4 separate regions of the Homo sapiens genome follow, and all the other regions are linked to region 3. Evidence: promoter capture Hi-C in 16 types of primary human blood cells and fetal thymus (Javierre and others, 2016). All regions are on one chromosome and are shown on one strand. Each heading gives the region's core, a stretch centred on a gene start or on the middle of the fragment in contact. The rest is flanking DNA. Distances are from core to core; before and after follow the strand shown.

Region 1 (3,152 bases), core at 653-3,152, 2.7 Mb before region 3:
CCATGGCTCCCACCCTAGACTTCAGCCCCAGCACCAAGACTTCTGGCCTGATCTCTTAGCTCTTCCCCTGCCCACAGGCTATTCTGTATACAACAGCCAGAGTAATCATTTTAAAATGTAAATCAAATGCTGCCTCCCACTCTTAACCCTTCAACAGTTTCCAAAACATTTAAAATCAAAATTCTTGATCGCGGTCTACAAGGATGGCCTTATGAGCTGCATCCACCCAATTCTCACTGTGCATCCGTGATTTCCATTCCTACCACACTGAGCTCACTTCTGCGACATCTTGGTTTTCGCTCTCCTACCCCCATCTCTCTCCTCAGGTCTTCACTTGGATCTTTACCCTTTATCCCTATTTTCACTATCAGCTTAAGTCCATTCAGGCTGCTATAACAAAATATCTTAGGACTGGGTGGCTTATAAACAGCAGAAATTTCTCATAGTCTGGAGGCTTAGCAAGTTCAAGGTCACAGCAGATTCAGTGTCTGAGGAAGGCCCACGTTTTGGCTCATAGATGGTGTCCTCTCACTTAGTAGAGGGAATAAGGCAGCTCTCTGGGGCCTCTTTTGTAAGGGCACTGCTTCCATTCATGAGGGCTCCACCTTTATGACCCCAATCACGCCCAAAGGCCCCATCTTCTAATACCATCACATTGGCGATTAGGTTTCAACATACAGATTTTGGAGGCAGACTACTGCACAGCTTAAAATCCACCTCCCTAGGAGTCTTTTCTGACACCCCTCACCCAATGGAATCTTACTGCTGTTTCACTTTCATGTCAGTTGGTTTCCCACCCTGACTAGAATATAAACTTGAAGAAAATAAATAAAGGCCTCGCTTACTCAAAGCTGCATCCCCATTGTCTAGCAGGTATTCAATAAATATTTTTGAATAGGATTCCACCAGTAGATGGCTAGATTTGAAAGATATGCCAAATATACTGCCAATCCAAAACTCAGTGGAATCTTTCACTTGCATGAGTTAACTGCACCTCTAAAATTGAGAATGAATTTAAGATCCACCCCGTTAATATCTCTATTTTAAGAAGAGAGGTACTTGGGCTGACATTAAAGGAGTACCTGGAACTGGGCTGAGTGTGTTACATGTTACTGTATTTAAATCCAGCAACCTCTCAAAGGACCTGCCAGTGACACCAATGGGGTTCAGACACACATGTGCCTCCTATACCTATACCTGGGTGGTGTGCAGTGGGCACTGGAGGCAGCCTGCTTTCTGCATACCCTCTGCCTCCCTCTTCAAGATGGACATTCTATCAAGTGCTCATTTTAATTGTGCATTAGGTCACAAGAAAACAGGGCAGAGACCACACTTCAGATTTCAGAAATGCCTCACATCTAGTTGGTGGAATGCCAGGCTCTAGGCCCAATTCTGTCATTATCTAGGTCCAGCTGTGTAATTCTGGATACTTAGCTGACCTTTCTGGGCCTCAACTTTACACCCGCAAAACGGGTTTGTGTGGCTATATGGATGGTCTTGAAGGAACACTCCAGCCCCATCATTCTATAATTTGGGAATAGGATGTGGTTTTTATTAACCTATTTTGCTCTGGACACTGGCACCTCACATCTTCTATACAGAATGTTGCCTTAGAAGTCTGGGGAATACGGTGCTGGCATCATGGAATCTCTACGGCAAAGCTGTCATCTGTTCTAAATTAAAAGAGAAATCAGCAGGCAGTCCTAGCACCATATGTACCTCTTAATTTTATATCCAGAAGCTTGCCAAGACCAAAAATACACACTATTCAATATTTACATCAGGTCTCTGAGAATCCCATTGCCCATTCTGCACTTAAATGCACTGCATTAATTTGAAGGGAAACCCTGTGGCAGGGAGAATGCTAACCAGATTAAAGTAAGACTGTTTTAAACACCATTTCTCCATTTTTAATGGCGCTTGAAGTGTATTCCTGCAAGGATAAGGTGAAAAGTTGTGGCCTAATGATACCTAACACAATAACTTAATAATTTTTGGGGAAAAGATCATTCAAAATTAATCTCAGTTCCCCCACTTATAAGCACTACCACTTAATAAGCTTCTACCATGTGCAACATAGACAATATAATTCTAGCCCTCCTAGCAAATTCTGCAGTAAAATTCTCAGTTTATAGATGAGCACCTAAGAGAAGTCACATACTTCACACGAGTTTCATGAAAACCATTTCTGCCTTGTTTCCGCCAAACAATGAAGGCAGGGGAGAGGCCTTCTATAAATATTTGCTGGATGCAAGATTCTTTTCAAAATGACAAAATAAGTTTCATATATAAGTCTGGATGCAACACCCTTCACCATTCCTCTCATTCTAAGTGGCTCATTTAAACCTGCAAGGGCGTAATAAACTAATCTGGCTGATTACACACTGACCGCAGAAATTCGCCTTCTCCCGGGAAAACTGCAGTCGAGTGTAGGGAATCGAGATGCTTTGGAGAAGATCGCAGACCTTCCTATCCCATAGGCCAAAAATTTCTAAAAATCAAACAAGAACGCATTCTTAGCCAGTAATAAACTGCCTAGAAGAGGTCTTAAGTTTTATCATCAATTTTTCTTTACGTGCTGTAATTCTCTCTCGGAATACTAACCAGGAGAGAAGTGTTTAAAACCCCAGGGAAGCCAGCTGCTACTCTCAGAACTCGTGCCCTCCTCAGCACAAAGCTTCCCACCGCACAATGACCCCTTGTATCAAGGCCTCTCAGGGCCTAGGGCACAAGGAAATTGAACTCTAACTTGCAAGGCTGCAAAACAAAGCAGTTTCAAGCCAGAGGCCTCCAAACAGTGCAGCCCTAAAAACGGACGCCTGTACTCCTTTTCGAAGAAAGTCTCAGAATTCTTACAGTATTACGCTGCTGGGGAAAACTTCAGCGCGGAGAAGGCCTACGTTTGGAGGAAAAAGAAGCCGGAAGCATACAAAAGAGCAAGTAAGCAGTTCTCCCACGTGGGCCGCAGGCAACAAGCAGAGTCAGAGAGCGGAAGCTGGAGTCCCGCAAGGCACCAGGAGACGGTCACAGAAGCTGCAGGCGCCCGGACACCTCCTGACTCCAGCCGGGTGTCTTTCTTGGAAGAAGAGTGGTTCTCAGGAATGGTGGTGGCATGGGTGCAGCCTCTCCCATCCACGACCTCTCTCTCTAAA
Region 2 (3,014 bases), core at 50-2,549, 2.0 Mb before region 3:
AAAGGAATATCAACCTATACAGATGAGAAAGAATCAGCACAAGAACTCAGGCACTTCTGGAAACCAGAGTGTCTTCTTACCTCCAAATGACCACACTAGCTTCCCAGCAGTGGTTCTTAATTGATGGCTAGAATGACAGACATAGAATTCAGAATCTGTATGGAAATGAAGACCATTGATATTCAATAGAAAGTTGAAATCCAATCCAAGGAATATAAAGAATCCAATAAAATAATACAAGAGCTGAAAGATGAAATAGCCATTTCAAAAAAGAAACAGCTGATCTTCTAAAGCTGAAAAACTCTTACAAGAATTATATAACACAATCAGAAGTATTAACAGCAGAATAGACTAAGCTGAGGAAGGAATCTCAGAGCTTGAAGACTCAGAGCTTCCCCAACCTTTCTAAAGAAGTTGACATACAAATTGAGGAAATTCAGAGAACCCCAGCAAGAAACTATACAAAATTAACATACCAAAGACACATAGTCATCAGATTCTTTGACATTAACATGGAAGAAAAAATATTGAAGAAAGCTAGAGAGGAGGGGCAGGTCACCTATAAAGGGAACCCCATCAGGCTAACAACATACCTTTCAGCAGAAACCTTACAAGCCAGAAGAGATTGCGGGCCTATATTCAGCATCCTTAAAGAAAAGAAATTCCAACCAAGAATTTTATATCCAGCCAAACTAAGCTTCCTTAGCAAAGGAGAAATAAAATCCTTTTCAGATAAACAAATGCTAAAGAAATTTGTTACCACCAGACCTTCCTTACAAGAGGTCCTTAAGGAAGTATTTAACATGGAAATGAAAGACTATTACCAGCCACCACAAAAACACACTTAAGTACCTAGCCCACTGACACTATAAACCAACTGCAGCCCAACTCTATATAACAGCAGGCTAACAACACAATGACAGGATCAAATCCTCACATGTCAATATTAACCTTGAATGTAAATGGGTTAAATGCCCCCATTTAAAAGACCGAGTAGCAAGATGGATAAAGAAGCAATATCCAAATGTATGCTGTCATCAAGAAACCCATCTCACATGCAATGATATCCACAGATTCAAAGTAAAGAGATGGAGAAAGATCTATCAAACAAACAGAAAAAAAAAAGAGAGTAAAGGTTATTATTCTTATTTCAAATAAAACAGACATTAAACCAGTATAATCAACAAGAACAAAAAATGGCATTACATAAAGAGCTCGATTTAACAAGAAGACTTACTACCCTAAATATATATGCACCCAAAACTAGAGTGCCCAGATTCATAAGTTTTTAGAGACCTACAAAGAGACTTAGATAACTACACAATAATAGCAAAAGACTTCCAAACCCCACTGACAGTGTTAGACAGATCAACAAGGCAGAAAACTAACAAATATATTTGAGACCTAAATGCAACACTTGATCAAATGTACCTAACAGATATCTACAGAACACTCCACCCAACAACAGCAGAGTACACATTCTCGTCTGCACATAGTGCATACTCTAAGGTCAACCACGTGCTTGTCCATAAAGCAATTCTCAACAAAATAAAAAAAAAATCATACCAAGCACACTCCTGGACCATGGTGCAATAATAATTGAAATTAATACCAAGAAGCTCTCTCAGAACCATGTAACTACATGGAAATGAGACAGCCTATTCCTGGATGACTTTCAGGTAAACAAAGAAATTAAGGCAAAAATCAAGAAATTCTTGGAAACTAATGAAAACAAAGATACAACCCTTCAGAATCTCTGGGGCACAGCTAAATCAGTATTAGGAGTAAAATTAATAGCATTAAATGGCTACATCAAAAAGTCAGAAAGATCCCAAATTAGCAAGCTAACATCACACCAAAAAGAACTAGGAAAACAAGAGTAGAACAACTCCAAAGCTTGCAGAAGAAAAGAAATAACCAAAATCAGAGTTCAACTGAAAGAAATTGAGATGTGAAAATCTATACAAAAAAGAAACGAAAACAAAGGTTTGATTTTTGAAAGAATAAATAAGGTTGACATACTGCTAGCTAAATTAATGAAGAGAAAAAGAGAGAAGATCCAAATAAACACAGATATGACAAAAGTGATGTTACACCAACCTCACAGAAATACAAAAAACTTCAGAGAGTGTTTTGAACACTTCTATGAACACAAACTAGAAAACCTAGAATAAATGGATACATTCCTGGAAACATTTAACCTCCAAAGATTGAATCAAGAAGAAATTGAATACTCGAACATACCCATAATAAGTCGTGAAATTGAATCAATACTAAAAAACAAACAAACAAACAAAGAAAAAACTTACCAACAATAAAAAGCCCTGCATCAGATGGATTCACAGCCAAATTCTACTGGACAAAAAAAGAAGAATGGATACCAATCCTATTGAAACTATTCCAAAAAATGCCTTGATCATTTTATCCATTAATGGTGATTATTATTTTATTTTACTTTGTTTTAGAGATAGGGTCTCACTCTGTCACCCATGCTGGAATGCAGTGGGAGGATCATAGCTCACTATAATCTCCAGCTTCTGGGCTCAAGCGATCTTCCCACTTCAGCCTTCGGAGTAGCTGGAACTACAGGTGCATACCACAATGCCCAGCTAATTATTTTTGTATGTACAATGTCTTGCTATGTTGCTCAGGCTGGTCTTGAACTCCTGCCTTGGCCTCCCAAAGCACTGAGATTATAGGGAAGAGCCACCATATCCAGCCAATGGTGATTTTTTTGACAAGTTTCTTTCAATCCTGTCATTGTATTTTAGGATTTTTTAAATATGATGAGGTTAGAAAAATAAAGACATCTATACTAAGTACTGTGGTGGAGTTTGGGGTTAAAACAAGATTATCCCTGGTAAGTATCCCTTCACTGCTTCATAGAAAGTACATATAGTCTGCCCTCTGGCTCATACAATAGGTTCTTTTTGGCACTGGACACTCAACCATTGTCTGGTAAGATTAGGAGGAGAAGAAATTCCTAATTGGAATCTATCAGTAGACAAAATAAA
Region 3 (2,983 bases), core at 198-2,697:
CCTCCCGAGTAGCTGAGCTGGGATTACAGGCATGCGCTACCACGCCCGGCTAATTTTGTATTTTTAGTAGAGACGGGGTTTCTACATGTTGGTCAGGCTGGTCTCGAACTCCCCACCTCAGGTGATCCGCCCACCTTGGCCTCCCAAAGTGCTGGGATTATAGGCGTGAGCCACTGTGCCCCGCCTCTCTCTCTTTTATTAAGGTGATTTTAGTGAGGCAGGAGACAATCATTGCCAGAGGTAGCAATGAGACTTAAAAGCAGGTTACCCAATCCACTTCCAGGCCCTGTTGTCAGTGGGGTTTGTGGTAGGCAACAGCTGTCAATTAAGACGACGGGCCGGGTGCGGTGGCTCACGCCTATAATCCCAGCACTTCGGGAGGCCGAGGAGGGCGGATCACGAGGTCAGGAGATCGAGACCATCCTGGCTAACAGGGTGAAACCCCGTCTCTACTAAAAATACAAAAAATTAGCCCGGCGTGGTGGTGGGAGCCTGTAGTCCCAGCTACTCGGGAGGCTGAGGCAGGAGAATGGCGTGAACCTGGGAGGCGGAGCTTGCAGTGAGCCGAGATTGCGCCACTGCACTCCAGCCTGGGAGACAGAGCTAGACTCCGTCTCAAAAAAAAAAAAAAAAAAAAAAAAAAAATTAAGAGGACTGCAGGCGGCCAGGCGCAGTGGCTCACGCCTGTAATCCCAGCACTTTGGGAGGCCAAGACCGGCAGATAACCTGAGGTCAGGAGTTCGAGACCAGCCAGCCAACATGGTGAAACCCCGTCTCCATTAAAAATACAAAAAAATTAGCCGGGCGTGGTGGCGGACACCTGTTAATCCCAGCTACTCGGGAGGCTGAGGCAGGAGAATCGCTTGAACCCGGGAGGCGGAGGTTGCAGTGAGCCGAAATCGCGTCACTGCACCCCAACTTGAGCAACAAGAGCGAAACCCCGTCTCAAAAAAAAAAAAAAAAAAAAAAAAGACTGCAGGACTGCAGGGGAGTATAGAGCCAGATTTCATTTAAAGCAGGAAAAGGAACATCCGGCATTTGAGGACATAGATTTCGCTAACGACAGAAATGAGGCTCAGAGATTACGTGACTTGATTAGAGTCACAGTGAGCATAGCGGAGGATGGAACCAATGCTTTAACTCTACACCGAGGCATAGTGCTCCATTTATGGCTTTTTTGTGACGTAACAACTAGGATACACAAGCAAATGGACCCCACTAACCAAGAATCAGAAACCCGAAGGCCCGAGGATCTGGGCACGACAGCGGTTAAGCAAGCGCAGAGCAAGTCGCTGGCCGCGCAATGCCCGGTGGGTCTTGCAGTTTCTTGGCTGGGCATGGCCGGAAGGGAGGAGAGAAGGACGCATTGCATGGCGGGAGATATAGTCTTTGCCGGAAGTCCCTCCTCCCTCGGACGCCTGGCGGCGCCGGCGCACACTGCTCTTCCTTAAGGGCGGGAGTCTCGGTTTGTGGTGGCTTCGCTGAGGCAGTGGTGGCCGCACTATACCGTTAGAAACTCAATTTCCCGGAGGTTGTGAGGCCCTTTGAGGCGAAATCGCTCTGGGCGTGAAAGGAGCAGGCGTTGGCAATGGAAGGACCACCGCGACCTCAGGCTGACCGTAGGGAGGGATCTTGAGGGCCCTCCGAGTCCCCTGGGCTTGCGCTTTCTTTCTTTGCAGCCACCGTGCCTACCGCGAGGATGAGCTCGGCCTCGGTCACCGCTTTCGAGAAGGAGCATCTCTGGATGTATCTGCAGGCGCTCGGCTTCGAGCCAGGCCCGGCAACCATTGCCTGCGGAAAGATCGTGTCGCACACGCACCTCGGAGTGTAAGGAGGCCGGGGCCGGCGGGGCGAGGGAGCCTGAACCGGGGGACGCCGGGGGACTCCCCCTTTTGTAGACCCCGGAGGTTGATTAATCAGAATTGGTTGAGCAGTTACTCTGTGCCAGGCATTGGCTCCAAAGTTCCTACTCCCAGTTGCTGCCAGCCTAGGGGCAGAGACAGACAGTAAATAATGCAAGAGTGCCGGAAGCGCTCTGTAGGGGAGTGCAAAAGTCTGCAGATGGGGAGAGTGCAAGACTGGAGGAGCAGCTTAACTCTGCCTATGTGGTGGAGGGGTGGTCTGTGAAGTAGTGGGAGGGATGGCGGGTGGTAGTGGAAGAGCATGGGAACCATATGTACAAAACACCTTTTGGACTCAAGGGAGCCTTTGAAGGTGGTTGTTTAATTTTATAATTTTTAATTTTTTAATTAGTAAGGCATGTTGGAGTTAGCATAAAACAACGGAGAAGGGTATTAAAAACAAATACCCTTTTAAGAAAAGTATGGAAAGTAAAAGCCCCTTCCCTACTTTTTCCACTTCTGTTTTATCAACTTTAGCCAGTATCTCTATTTAATCATTCCCACTGTAGGCCAAGAGGAATTCTTTTCTTTCATATGGAGTCTCCCTCTGTTGCCAGGCTGGAGTGCAGTGGCACGATCTCGGCTCACTGCACCCTCCAACTCCCTGGTTCAAGCGATTCTCCTGCCTCAGCCTCCCGAGTAGCTGGGATTACAGGCACTTGCCACCACGCCCAACCAATTTTTGTATCTTTAGTAGAGACGGGGTTTCACCATGTTGGCCAGGATGGTCTCGATCTCCTGAGCTCATGATCCACCTGCCTCGGCCTCCCAAAGTGCTGGGATTACAGGCGTGAGCCACCGTGCCCGGCCTCTATTTTTTTAAAGTATTATTATTTTAGAGACAGTAGCTAACCATGTTGCCCAGGCTGGTCTCAAAATTCCTGGGCTCAAGCAATCCTCCTGCTTCGGTCTTCCAAAGTGCTGGGATTATAGATATGAGCCATTGTTTTTTGTTTTGAGACAGGGTCTCCCACTCTGTCGCCCAGTCTGGAGTGCAGTTGTGCGATCACAGCTCACTGCAGCCTCCAACTCCTGGGCTCAGGCGATCCTCCCACTTCACCCTCCTGAGTAGCTGGGACTAC
Region 4 (2,940 bases), core at 415-2,914, 2.2 Mb before region 3:
AACTTAAAGCATAAAAAGTATTCAGCAATTTAATGAATTGAATTCAACGTAGATATAATCCACATTTGGAAAAATAAAATTAATTTTGCTATTCAACATAAAAATTTTGCAAAGGATAATTTACCCAACCCCTGCCCACGCTCACACACTGAACATAAATTTTTGCTCCTATCATCTGAAGGCTATGAAAATATTGACGTTAGTACCAGATCAAAAAAAGAGGAGATCACTGCTGACAACCTAGTTCAATCACAGCAACACTCTGCTGTCTTGGCCAATTGACTGTTTGAAGGACAAAAGCAATCATCTTCCAGTAATGATGTGCCAAAATTTCTCAATTGTGATGAGCTGACTCCTGCCAGCACATTTAGAGGGAGTTAGGGAGGGTTAAATTGGAAGATAGGTGGCTGTGTGCACATTAGGCCAGAGGGTCAGATTAAAGATGTGGTCTCTAACTTGAGGGGTAAGGAGGTGCTGGGGAAAGAATAAAAATGTTGTGGTTCTTGGGATTAGGATTGATATACCCACATCTGACTTACTACCACTGTTCGTAGAAAGCAGAGACATCAATTAGGCAAGGTAAAGAAAAGGGCCCAAATATCATTTTCCATTATTCTGAATTAATTATTGGAACACAGATACATCAGGAATGAGAGTACTGGGAAAAGATGAGAACATCATTAGACTTAGAGAACAGGCAAGGCAGGTCAGGGGAGACAGCAGGGCCTAGGGCTTCTAACCAAAGGTCACAAATAATTTATCTGAGTGTGAGAGAGGTCTTCAGAGTAAAATCCCAAACATTGTGATTCAGGGTTATGAATTGGCTGATGAAGGGAGTTCAGCACACTTGAACAGGACAGCCTTTCAATACCTTTTCATCAGCCACTTCCCCATCCCATCTCAGGTGAACCTGGGGACAAGCTTCTCTCTTGTGTAGAGCCAACATGGAAAGCAATGGCGAGCCCCTGGAAAAACTTTGATCTGATATGTACACATAGATAGATATAGATAAATATAGATATAGATAGGTAAATATAGATTAGATATCAGGTTAATAATAGCTATTTAGATAGATGAAATATATATATATGTATTGGCTTGGATCCCACTAGTCTTTGGAAATCTTAAGCTATCCCAGGAATTTTTTCTAGCACAATTGTTTTTTAAAAAGCAACTCATTTTTGAAAGCATAACACACAGAATGAAAGTATACACGTCTTACGCACACAGTGACATGGTTCCTCACACACTGAATACATTGTGAAAGTAGCAGCATGTCAGAAACAGTTTGCTCAGGACTTAGAAGCCTCTCTAGTGCTCTGTGCCAGTCAGTACCTAAGTAAGACCAACTCTTCTGCCTCTGCCCTGGGGATAGACACTCTCGCTTCTAACAGCAGTGATTATTTTTGCTAGGTAGTTTCAGCCATTTCGTATTTATTAATCTGATTGTTACAATAATCCTATGAGATCAATACTATTATTCTTCCCATATTACAGACGAGGAAACTAGGGAGCATAATGTTCATGGTACTTGCCATGGTCATATTGCTATTAAATAGCAGAGCTGGAATCCAAACCAGGAACTCTGGCTCTAGAGTCATACCCTTTAGTCACTAAATTGTGCTGTCTAAAATAGCATGGCAAGCTCGATCAACAGTCTGAATCAATACAATTAGATGTGTTTAGAGAAATAACCACTAACCACCACATAGCACTTTGTAGATTGTTCTGCACATACCTTTTGACTTCCTCCTACTTACGGCTCAGACCCTGTGAGCAGGCATCTATCTCTGAGGGAAAAAGACTTGCCCAAAGGCCACAGCTAAAAAGGAGAATATGTGAGCTGAGAACAGTTTGGGGTCTATTATTTTCTTCACCATTTCACAAAGGACAGGAGAAAATAGACCAAGAGGATTTCATGAGTAATCCTTTTCTCCAGTGAGGCCAGCTAGGCACTCTGGACATGGTTGGTGCTAAACTTGTAAGAAGTCCTATTCAGGCCCGTCTCTTTACTGAAGATTTATGTGTTACTCAACCCCTCAGAATCCTTGGGGTACCTGAGTTCTTCACTGCACTTATGCAGGTGATAGGAGGTCTGTCTGTGACCCAGACAGATGCCACAGGCAGGTAAGACAATAATTGAGGAAATGAGTGAAGCACAGTGAGTAGGGCAGACGCTGTGAGTTTGGGTCTCCAACAGGGTAACTTGTGAAGAAGAGAAAGAAAGAAGAACCTACCCGATCCTGATAGCCCCCAACCTTGGGGAAACATGATATCCACTGAGTGCATGAAGTTTTCCATCAGCACACCTAGACTCAAATCCTAACTCTGCCAATCACTTGTGCACTCTACGTGGATCACCTTTTCTCTCAGCGTCCTGCTTTCTTCATTGATAAAGTAAGCTTGATAGTATTACTATTTACACTGTAACTGGTGGATTAAAACATGTAACATATTATTTATTTTATAGATGGCACATAATAATAGATTTTTTCTTTCCCTGTTCTTTCTTAACACTGATGAAAGAAATCAAAAACAATGTTTTCTTTTAATGCCTTCTTAGTATTGAGTGCTCTTGTCAATTCTGCATTCATGACAAACAACAAAGTCTAACTTAGATACATTAAACACAGAGAAAAGAACACTGTACATACAGGTAGAACCAGCTATGAATCCTATCTCTGCCCCTCACCATTCACTAAATGGATGTCTTCAAGACATCTCTTATCAATACTGATCCGCAGATCACTCCTCATATCATCTCTGCTAAGAGAGAAATTTATAAAATGTTACCAAAGTATGAGTGGGTTTCATGACTAGGCAGTAGAGAATAGGAAACCAGTGAATCAATAAACTCACAACGTGGTGGTTTGCAGACATTCTCTGCATGGCAGCTAAATACACTTCCCTAGAAGCATCCCCATCTGGTCAGAGATGGCC

The links. The method cuts DNA at HindIII sites, captures the fragments that hold promoters and counts their contacts. A CHiCAGO score of 5 or more calls a contact.
Region 1: a contact is called between a fragment that was not itself captured here and the fragment with the promoter of HAUS6 in region 3, in 1 of 17 cell types (activated CD4 T cells). The highest score is 7.6, in activated CD4 T cells.
Region 2: a contact is called between a fragment that was not itself captured here and the fragment with the promoter of HAUS6 in region 3, in 1 of 17 cell types (M0 macrophages). The highest score is 5.0, in M0 macrophages.
Region 4: a contact is called between a fragment that was not itself captured here and the fragment with the promoter of HAUS6 in region 3, in 1 of 17 cell types (total CD4 T cells). The highest score is 5.1, in total CD4 T cells.

What each region holds. Positions count from the first base shown.
Region 1 is chr9:21,803,086-21,806,237 of GRCh38, reverse strand. All of the region lies in intron 1 of MTAP (methylthioadenosine phosphorylase), which reads right to left. Among named protein-coding and RNA genes, the nearest start is that of MTAP, 2.0 kb to the right of the region's middle. RefSeq lists a cis regulatory region at 1,028-1,029 and enhancers at 957-1,101, 2,760-2,969. The HindIII fragment of the contact is 318 bases long and covers 1,744-2,061 here.
Region 2 is chr9:21,146,075-21,149,088 of GRCh38, reverse strand. No RefSeq gene overlaps it. Among named protein-coding and RNA genes, the nearest start is that of IFNW1, 5.8 kb to the right of the region's middle. The HindIII fragment of the contact is 1,199 bases long and covers 700-1,898 here.
Region 3 is chr9:19,101,368-19,104,350 of GRCh38, reverse strand. HAUS6 (HAUS augmin like complex subunit 6) reads left to right here and starts at 1,447. Exons shown (of 17, transcript NM_017645.5): 1 at 1,447-1,827. The coding sequence starts at 1,700. RefSeq lists an enhancer at 1,205-1,768. The HindIII fragment of the contact is 8,228 bases long and covers 1-2,983 here.
Region 4 is chr9:21,339,270-21,342,209 of GRCh38, reverse strand. No RefSeq gene overlaps it. Among named protein-coding and RNA genes, the nearest start is that of KLHL9, 5.3 kb to the right of the region's middle. The HindIII fragment of the contact is 1,481 bases long and covers 924-2,404 here.